Regions from separate parts of the Homo sapiens genome. Here region 1 is linked to region 2. The links are contacts of gene promoters, found by promoter capture Hi-C in blood cells and fetal thymus (Javierre and others, 2016). All regions are on one chromosome and are shown on one strand. The core of a region is centred on a gene start or on the middle of the fragment in contact, and the rest is flanking DNA. Distances in the headings are between cores, read along the strand shown.

Region 1 (3,579 bases), core at 990-3,489, 620 kb after region 2:
TGAGAGGATACACAGCAAATTATTAACAGTATTTACCTAAGGAAACAGGAATAGGACAGGGTGGAAGGGAATTACACTTTTCACTTTGTGTTCTTGTCTATCATTTGATTTTGTAATGATAAAACAAAAACATAAACAAAGATGTTTTAAGATTGTTTAATATATTAACTACCTTAAAAGCAAACCCTTCAATATACTTAGGAGGTTCTGACCTCATTAATCTTTTAATATTATTACAAGTAGGTATGTTGCAAAGATGAATAATCGAAGGGAAACCTTTTTAAACTACAGCAGGTAATTCCAAATGGTCTAGTCTTCTATGTCTTCTCAAAATGAGTTAATAAATTTTATGGACATAAAAAAGAAAAGTTGCATTCCAAAAACACAAAATGGGTATGCAGATAACTTCCAGTGTAAATACAAAATGTATTTTTAAGCACACTGATTTTCTATTACCTAAATTTGAATATTTCCATTGCCAAACCTCCCCTCTTAGGCACTTCAAAAAGCACAAAATGCAAACATTTAGTTTGACAATATTATGATAACTAAGAACTAAAGAAGAAACTAAAATCTGAGATGTAATATGAAAATCAATGTAAAATGAATTTGTTAAGCCTGATCTGACTATGCTTATGAAACTGCAAGCTGCTAATAATCAAGGAATTTCCGGAAGCCCAGTCTTTGAGCATCCCTACCTCCTATCCCTTCAACATGTCCTAGGCTGGTCTTAAACCAGCTGCTGGAAGAGCAGCACGTTCTAATACATAACTTCTCTTAGCACATTGCCTGGTGTCTAGCCTAGACTGCCCTGTAAGGACCCTAAAAACTATTTTCTCAGGGAAACTCTTGTAAAACTTCCCCTTGGTAATCTCAAGTAACCTGACTACCAAGAGAAAGCTTGATTTAGACATAACAGTATTCAAACACATTCAACATAGTTTTACATAATATCTGTCAGATCAAACTTAGTGTCCCATTTCAAATATTAATCTTTTTTTAAAATACAACTTCAACTTCTTTGTTAGACTCTGGGGGTACGTGCAGGTTTGTTACACTGGTATATTGCATAATGCTGAGGTTTGCAGTGTGACTGATCCCGTCACCCAGGCAGTGAGCATGGTAGCCAACAGTTAGTTTTCAACCCTTGCCTCCCTCCCTCCCTTCCCCATCCAGTAATCCCCAGTGTCTAGTGTTGTCATCTTTATGGTCATGAGTACCCAACGGTTAGCTCCCACTCATAAGTGAGAACACGCAGTATTTGGTTTTCTGTTCCTGTCTTAATTCACTTAGGGTAACAGCCTCCAGCTGCATCCATGTTGCTGCAAAGAACATTCTTTCATTCTTTTTTGTGGCTGCATTAATCTCTCAACATAAAAATAATTTGAGTAAAAAAAAAACCATTAATTCCATCCATATGAAACTGGTTTAATAAATTATAGTACAAACAACAGAATGCTATCTGTAAACTATCATTTTTTTTTTTGAGACGGAGTCTCGCTCTGTCACCCAGGCGGGAGTGCAGTGGCCCAATCTTCATTCACTGCAACCTCCGCCCCCCTGCCTCAGCCTCCCAAATAGCTGGGATTACAGGTGTGTGCCACCACACCCGGCTAATTTTTGTATTTTTAGTAGAGACGGTGTTTCGCCATATTGGCCAGGCTGGTCTCAAACTCCTGATCTCAAGTAATCTGCCTGCCTTGGCCTCCCAAAGTGCTAGGATTAGTGAGCCACTGCGCCTGGCCTGTAAATTTTTTTAAAATTAGTTTAGCATCGTAAGTAATTATAAGTACCAATAAGATGTATATTATATACTGTTATGTCTAAAAAAAAAAAAGCAAATGGAGAACTACAGTAGAATACAATTTCAGTTTGGTAAACCACTTTAAAAAATATGTATGTACACATATGCATATTGGCATATAGCACTTAGGAAAAAAAATTTGAAAGGATACTACTCCAAACCATTCAAGTGTTACCTCTGGGGTGTAGGATTTGGTGACTGGAAGGTATAAAAGGGCACTTTTTAAAATTACATGCTTCTGACATATTTGCATTTTTTAAAACTATGAGTATTTATCATTATTTTAAGTGAAAAATGCAAATCTACAAAAAACTATTGGTAAGTGTGAAGGACATTGATTCAAAGATATTATCATTTAAAAGAAAAATGTTGTGTACATTCATCTCAATATTTACTGAATGTTACTCTACAGGATGTTCAAGCTATCACCTCATTATCATCCTGCTCTAAGGAATCAAGCAACTCAGTCTTTAAATAAAAATTCCAATCAAATATAAAACAAATATTCTAAAAAATAAAGTCAACATATGCTTACCTCTATGGTTCCTGTGGCAAACAAGCCATGCACTGAATTTATGTCACAAACATTATTCTCCCTAACACAGGAAAGCAGTAAGAAAGAATGAATTAGTTAGCACCTACTTTAGTGGGGAAGGAATATTAAATAAATAAACAGTCAACCCAAATTCTGAGTAGAAAGAAGACACACAGATTCTCTCTTACTAATCTGCAAATGGAAAACACCAAGGTATGAAAGGGTTAAGTGCTTGGCTCAGTCACTGGAGTTTCTGATCCCCAGGGTGACACTCTACCTGCTAGGTGACAAACAAGGAGGGACTTCCTTCTGAAATACTATTCCACTACCATGAGAAGAAAGGGTCACTCTATTTTTCAAGGTATTTTCTTCCAAGGCAGGTAACATTCTTAAAAGAACACACGCTATCACCATGACAATCCTGAGCCTTGACAGGCTTGTCCTGGGTACATCATTCTAAGTCTCATTTTCTTTCTCTGTAAAATGGATATTTCACCTACCTCGGGGGGTTGTTATGGGGATTAAATGAAAAAGACTGCAAAGCGTTCAGCAGTATCTGGGGTACAGAGGACACTCAATATAATGCATTTGTGAAGTTACTACTACAAGTTTTTTTTTTAATAAAAATAAAAGCATTTCTACCCAATGTGAAATAAAAAAAAATTAGAGTTTATTTGGTTCTTATCACAACATGTTCACCTAACCTTTAAAAATCCTCTCAAAGCAATACGAGAAATTCAGCAAGCTCTTCATATACACAATGAGAAGTAATCCAGCTTCCACCCTTGACTAGTTGTGTGGCCTTGGGCAAACTACTTACCTCTCTGAGCCTCAGCTGCCCTATCTGTAAAATGGTACTTACCACAAAAATCTGTTCTAAGTTTAAAATGAGATAATAAAGGTAAAATGACTGAATAACACCTGGCACAAAGTGCTTTCCTACTGTGTTTATCACTATTATTTGTTGTGATGATGATGATGATGGATTCATTCCTAAAAATTTTTGCTGCATAGTACATATGTGTAGACTATAATGTATGATAAAAGGAAACCTTTAAAAACCTTAAATGTCCGCTAGCAGAGCATAAAAATTTAAAAATGGCACTCCAAATTAATTCAAAAGTTCTCCACAGGAGAAAATATCACAAAACAAAACCATGAATGTAAATTTAAAGAACACTACAAGTAATAATAATAAACTGAGTATTTTTAACTGACTTAAAGTTGAGTAGATGAAAAA
Region 2 (4,061 bases), core at 1,562-4,061:
CAGGGAAAGCAATTTGGGAAACTGGTCAGAAATGATGCAGGAAGTGCTGGCTGGAGCCTGGCTACAAAGACTCATGGGTTCCTGGCCATGGAGCCTGAAGTCAGTCCTATAACTGTTTGGATTCCAACTGACGGCTTGAATACAGGTTCAGCTCCACCTCTGCTTCCAGAAGATCATTCTGGCAGTGAGGTGAGGGCAGATTGTAGGGCGTCTGGCTGGAGGGAGGGAGACCTGTTGGGAGGCAGTGGCAACAATTCAGGTGAGCAGGTGGTGGCCAGGACAAGGGCTGGCGTGGGTGACATAAGAGTTTGAGAGGAACTGAGAAGGAAGAAGGGCATGTAATTGGCGGAAGACAGCAACTGTGCGAAAGGGAGGAGGTAAAGGTGACGCTCAGGTTTCTAGATCAAGGAACAGGGTCTCCAGTTGTACCCTTCACGGAGGTGAGAAATCCAGATTTGGCTGGAATCCGAGTTCAGTTTTTTGTTTGTTTTTTTGAGACTGAGTCTCTGACGCCCAGGCTGGAGTGCAGTGGTGCGATCTCGGCTCACTGCAATCTCTGCCTCCTGGGTTCAAGCGATTCTCCTGCCTTAGTCTCCTGAGTAGCTGGGATTACAGGCGCCTGCCACCGTGCCAGGCTAATTTTTGTATTTTTAGAAGAGACGGGGTTTCATCATGTTGGCCGGGCTGGTCTTCAACTCCTGACCTCAGGTGATCCGCCCGCCTCGGCCTCCCAAAGTGCTGGGATTACAGGCGTGAGCCACCGCGCCCGGCCCTGAGTTCAGTTTTTTTAAGGACACAATTAGAGGTGCTCACGGGATGTTCAAGCAGGGAGGCTGGTGGATACCTTCGATTCGCTCGTTCACCTACGTGGACTTATTAAACAGCCAGGCTCCCTGGCCTTGGGAGAGTCCTTCTGGTGGGGAGACAGATGATAAATAACTGAAGTAATGGAAAAGGGGCAGTTCAAGAAAAGTGTTGTGGAGGAAGAAAACAAGAAAGCCCGCCAGAAGGGGACTGGAGGTCGGCCCCGAGGGTGTGTCCGCTAGAGGGGGCCTCTCCAGGTGGACTGCGGGTGAGAGTAAAGGGGGCATGTGGGGGAAAAGCATTCTAGGGAACAGCAAGTGCGAGGACCTGGAGACGGCAGAGGGGCTGGTGGGACAGGCGCCCAAGAGGAGGCCCAGGCTGTCCCTCCGGGGCGTGGGGAGAGGCATGGGGCTGGGTCCCTGCAGGAGCTCACAAGCCACAGTGGGGAGCAGAAGCGTTACGCTGAGTACAGTGGGAGCCACTGAAAGGGTTAAAGACCCCTGGGGGTGCTGAGTGGGAAGAGGCTCTGGGAGCTGGAGTGGACGCAGGGAGACCAGTTATAAGGCGAATGCAGGAGTCCAGGCAAAAGAGAATATTCCAGTGTGTATCTTAAGACTTAACTTTTTACACACAGAACACCCTGCGCCCCTCTCAGAGCCTCCGGGGTCTTCATGCGAGCAGTTTATCACGGTTCTTTCGTCTTAAACCCTCTTACTATTTCAGCAAACACCCTCTCCTCAGCCTGGTCAACCCCTCTGCCCAACCCGAGTGGGCCCCGAAGGAACAAGTGGGGACCAGAGTCCTGCTCATGTGAGTGGTGGGGCCCAGCCCGTTCCCCTAAGACCAGAATTCTCTCGCTCAGAGCAAAGCCCCGGGGTGCCGGGATTCTCTCTCTGCTCCCGCTCCCTGGATGGAGCTTTTAAAAAAGGAGGATTCCTCACTGCGGCCTCTGCCCCTTGCACTGAGCGCCAACCCGCATCACAGCTCAGCAAAGGCGCGCGCAGTGAACAGACGGAGGAGGGGTGGCTCCTCGCTGAGCTGAAGGCTGCGGCGACGAAAATAAACAGCATGGTTCCTGCTCTCCACGAACCTGGCGCTGCAGACGTGGGCAAACCACACCAAGAGACGCGAGCAACCGAAATATAGGGAGAAAAAAAAAGGTGCCCTGGACAGCGGGCTAGATGTCTCCTGCAGGCTCGAGGACTTCCCGGAGGGGGCGGCGTTTTCTCGGGGCCTGGGAAGAATGGGCGGGTTTCAGCGGGCGCCTTCTGGGTGACTGCCCGTTTCGGCTTCCCCTGACCCCGTAACAGAGCGGAAGAGGCCCAGAGACGCCAGAGGAGGGGCGTCAGCGGGACACTCAGGCCAATAAGCTCTGACTCCCGCTGTCTGCAAAAATGACCGGATGCAGGAATGTCACCTAGAACCGGCCAGCTTTCCGACCTCTCCGGTCAAGGACGCATTCCTAAGAGACGAAGGGAGAATGACAGAAGTTAAAAACAACCAAACAAAAGCCAGGTTGAGGCCTCTAGGTGGGTCTCCGCTACCGATGGATTCAGCCGGTGGGGCTGCAGGAGGTTCCTATAAGCGTGGTCCCCTCTCCCCGCACCGAGTCCGGCCCCGGCCCTGGGATTTCCCCAGCCGCCGCCCCGCCCCCTCCGCCCCGCCGCCCCCGCCGCCCCGCCGCCCCCTCCGCCCCCGCCGCCCCCTCCGCCCCCGCCGCCCCCTCCGCCCCGCTTGCCCCTGGCGCCGCTGCGACCTTTCCCTTACTTTCCAGGGCCTCAGGCCCCGCCCCTCGCTCCGACCAAAACACGTGCCGCGTCCCGCCCTGCCCGATCACGCCGCGGCCAGGCTCCGATCACGCGGCCCCCCGCGGCGCTCATTGGCCGGCCGGGCACGAATTGGCTGGTGGTGGCCGGCCCCGCCCCGGCAGGGGCGCGGTGTATTTTGGTTCGCCTCCGCGCCCCGCCCCGCCAGCCGCTCCCTCCGCGGCCGCCCCGCCCCTCCCGCGCCGCGAGGGCCGCGCCGGGGCAGAGCCGCGCGGGCGGGCGAGGCGCGTGCCGGCCGCAGGAGCTCCGGGTTGCCGCCGCCGCCGCCGCCCGCAGCCCACGTGCGGCCGCTGCTGCGCCCGAGCTCACGCCCCGCGGCCGCTTTGTTGCTCCCGGCCGGCCTGCACGATGCACACGCCGGACTTCGCAGGCCCAGACGACGCGCGCGCAGTGAGTGGTGGGGCTGCCGCGGCGGGACTACTCGTCTGAGCGAGGGGCGAGGCGGGGGAAGTGGTGCGGCACTCGCGCGCCTGTAAATGCGGGAGGTGGGGCGTGCAGGGCTTCGCTGCGGCCGCGCCGGTAGGGGCCTGGGCGGGCTCCGGAGCCGGGCGGGGCGGCGGCCGCGACGGGCGCGCCCGGGTCGGCGGGGGCGAGGAGGGGGCGTGTTCCCCGCGCAGCTTTGTCTTGCGCTTCCTGGGCGGCCCCGCCCCGCTGGCCCCGCGGCTATTTCCAGCCATGACGTCACCCCGGTCCTGTGAGCCGGACGGCCGTTGGGCGGGGGAGCGGCTGGCGGGAACGCGGCACGCGGCCTTGGGGGCGGGGCAAGAGCTGCTGGCGGGAACGCGGCACGGTTTTGGGGGCGGGGCACGCGGCCGTCGGGCGGGTTAAGAGCGGCTAGCGGTAGTGCCGCTCGGGCCTGGGGGCGGGCAAGGTCTAGGGGCCGGGGCAACGACGGGAGGCGGGAGCGCCGCACTGCCTTGGAGGCGGGGCAACGCTTGGAGGCGGGAACGCGGCACGCGAGCGTTGGGGGCCCTAAGCGTCGCGACCTGGGGGCTTCGGGGAGGTAGCCGTGGACGTGGGCAGAGCGCGGGCCTCGTGGTGTGCGGGCACTGTGGGCCGGGCGAGCCCCTTCCCGCCCGTGTGGTGAGTCGGCCTCGGCGCCCGGTTCTGTGACATCACAGGGGGTTTAGTGGCGCAGCCTGCGGGACAGAGGCCGGGGATTTGAGGTGGCCTCGTCTTGTTTGATCTCGGGGAACCTCGGCAGACGGAAAGCTTTGATGCTTTGGTGCATGGCAGATAGAGAGGAAACGTGTATCTTCGTACATTTAAAGTTTCCTTTCCTTTTTTTTTTTTTTGATAGGGAGTCTCGCTCTATCGCCCAGGCCGGAGTGCAGTGGGCGCGCGATCTCGGCCCACTGTAACCTCCCTGGGAGGGAGGGGTATTACTCTTCTCAGAGTAATATCACCCTCTCGCCCCCGGCTTAGTTTTCT

What was found. The method cuts DNA at HindIII sites, captures the fragments that hold promoters and counts their contacts. A CHiCAGO score of 5 or more calls a contact.
Region 1: a contact is called between a fragment that was not itself captured here and the fragment with the promoter of KLF11 in region 2, in 1 of 17 cell types (total B cells). The highest score is 6.2, in total B cells.

What each region holds. Positions count from the first base shown.
Region 1 is chr2:10,664,879-10,668,457 of GRCh38, forward strand. It overlaps NOL10 (nucleolar protein 10), which reads right to left. Exons shown (of 21, transcript NM_024894.4): 8 at 2,340-2,400. Among named protein-coding and RNA genes, the nearest start is that of NOL10, 23 kb to the right of the region's middle. The HindIII fragment of the contact is 2,682 bases long and covers 899-3,579 here.
Region 2 is chr2:10,040,739-10,044,799 of GRCh38, forward strand. It overlaps KLF11 (KLF transcription factor 11), which reads left to right and starts at 2,812. Exons shown (of 4, transcript NM_003597.5): 1 at 2,812-3,020. The coding sequence starts at 2,979. KLF11-DT (KLF11 divergent transcript) reads right to left here and starts at 2,663. Exons shown (of 3, transcript NR_135558.1): 1 at 2,572-2,663; 2 at 1,895-2,266; 3 at 815-913. RefSeq lists a promoter at 2,070-2,969 and silencers at 2,656-2,885, 3,176-3,225, 3,346-3,395, 3,436-3,505. The HindIII fragment of the contact is 6,616 bases long and covers 1-3,840 here.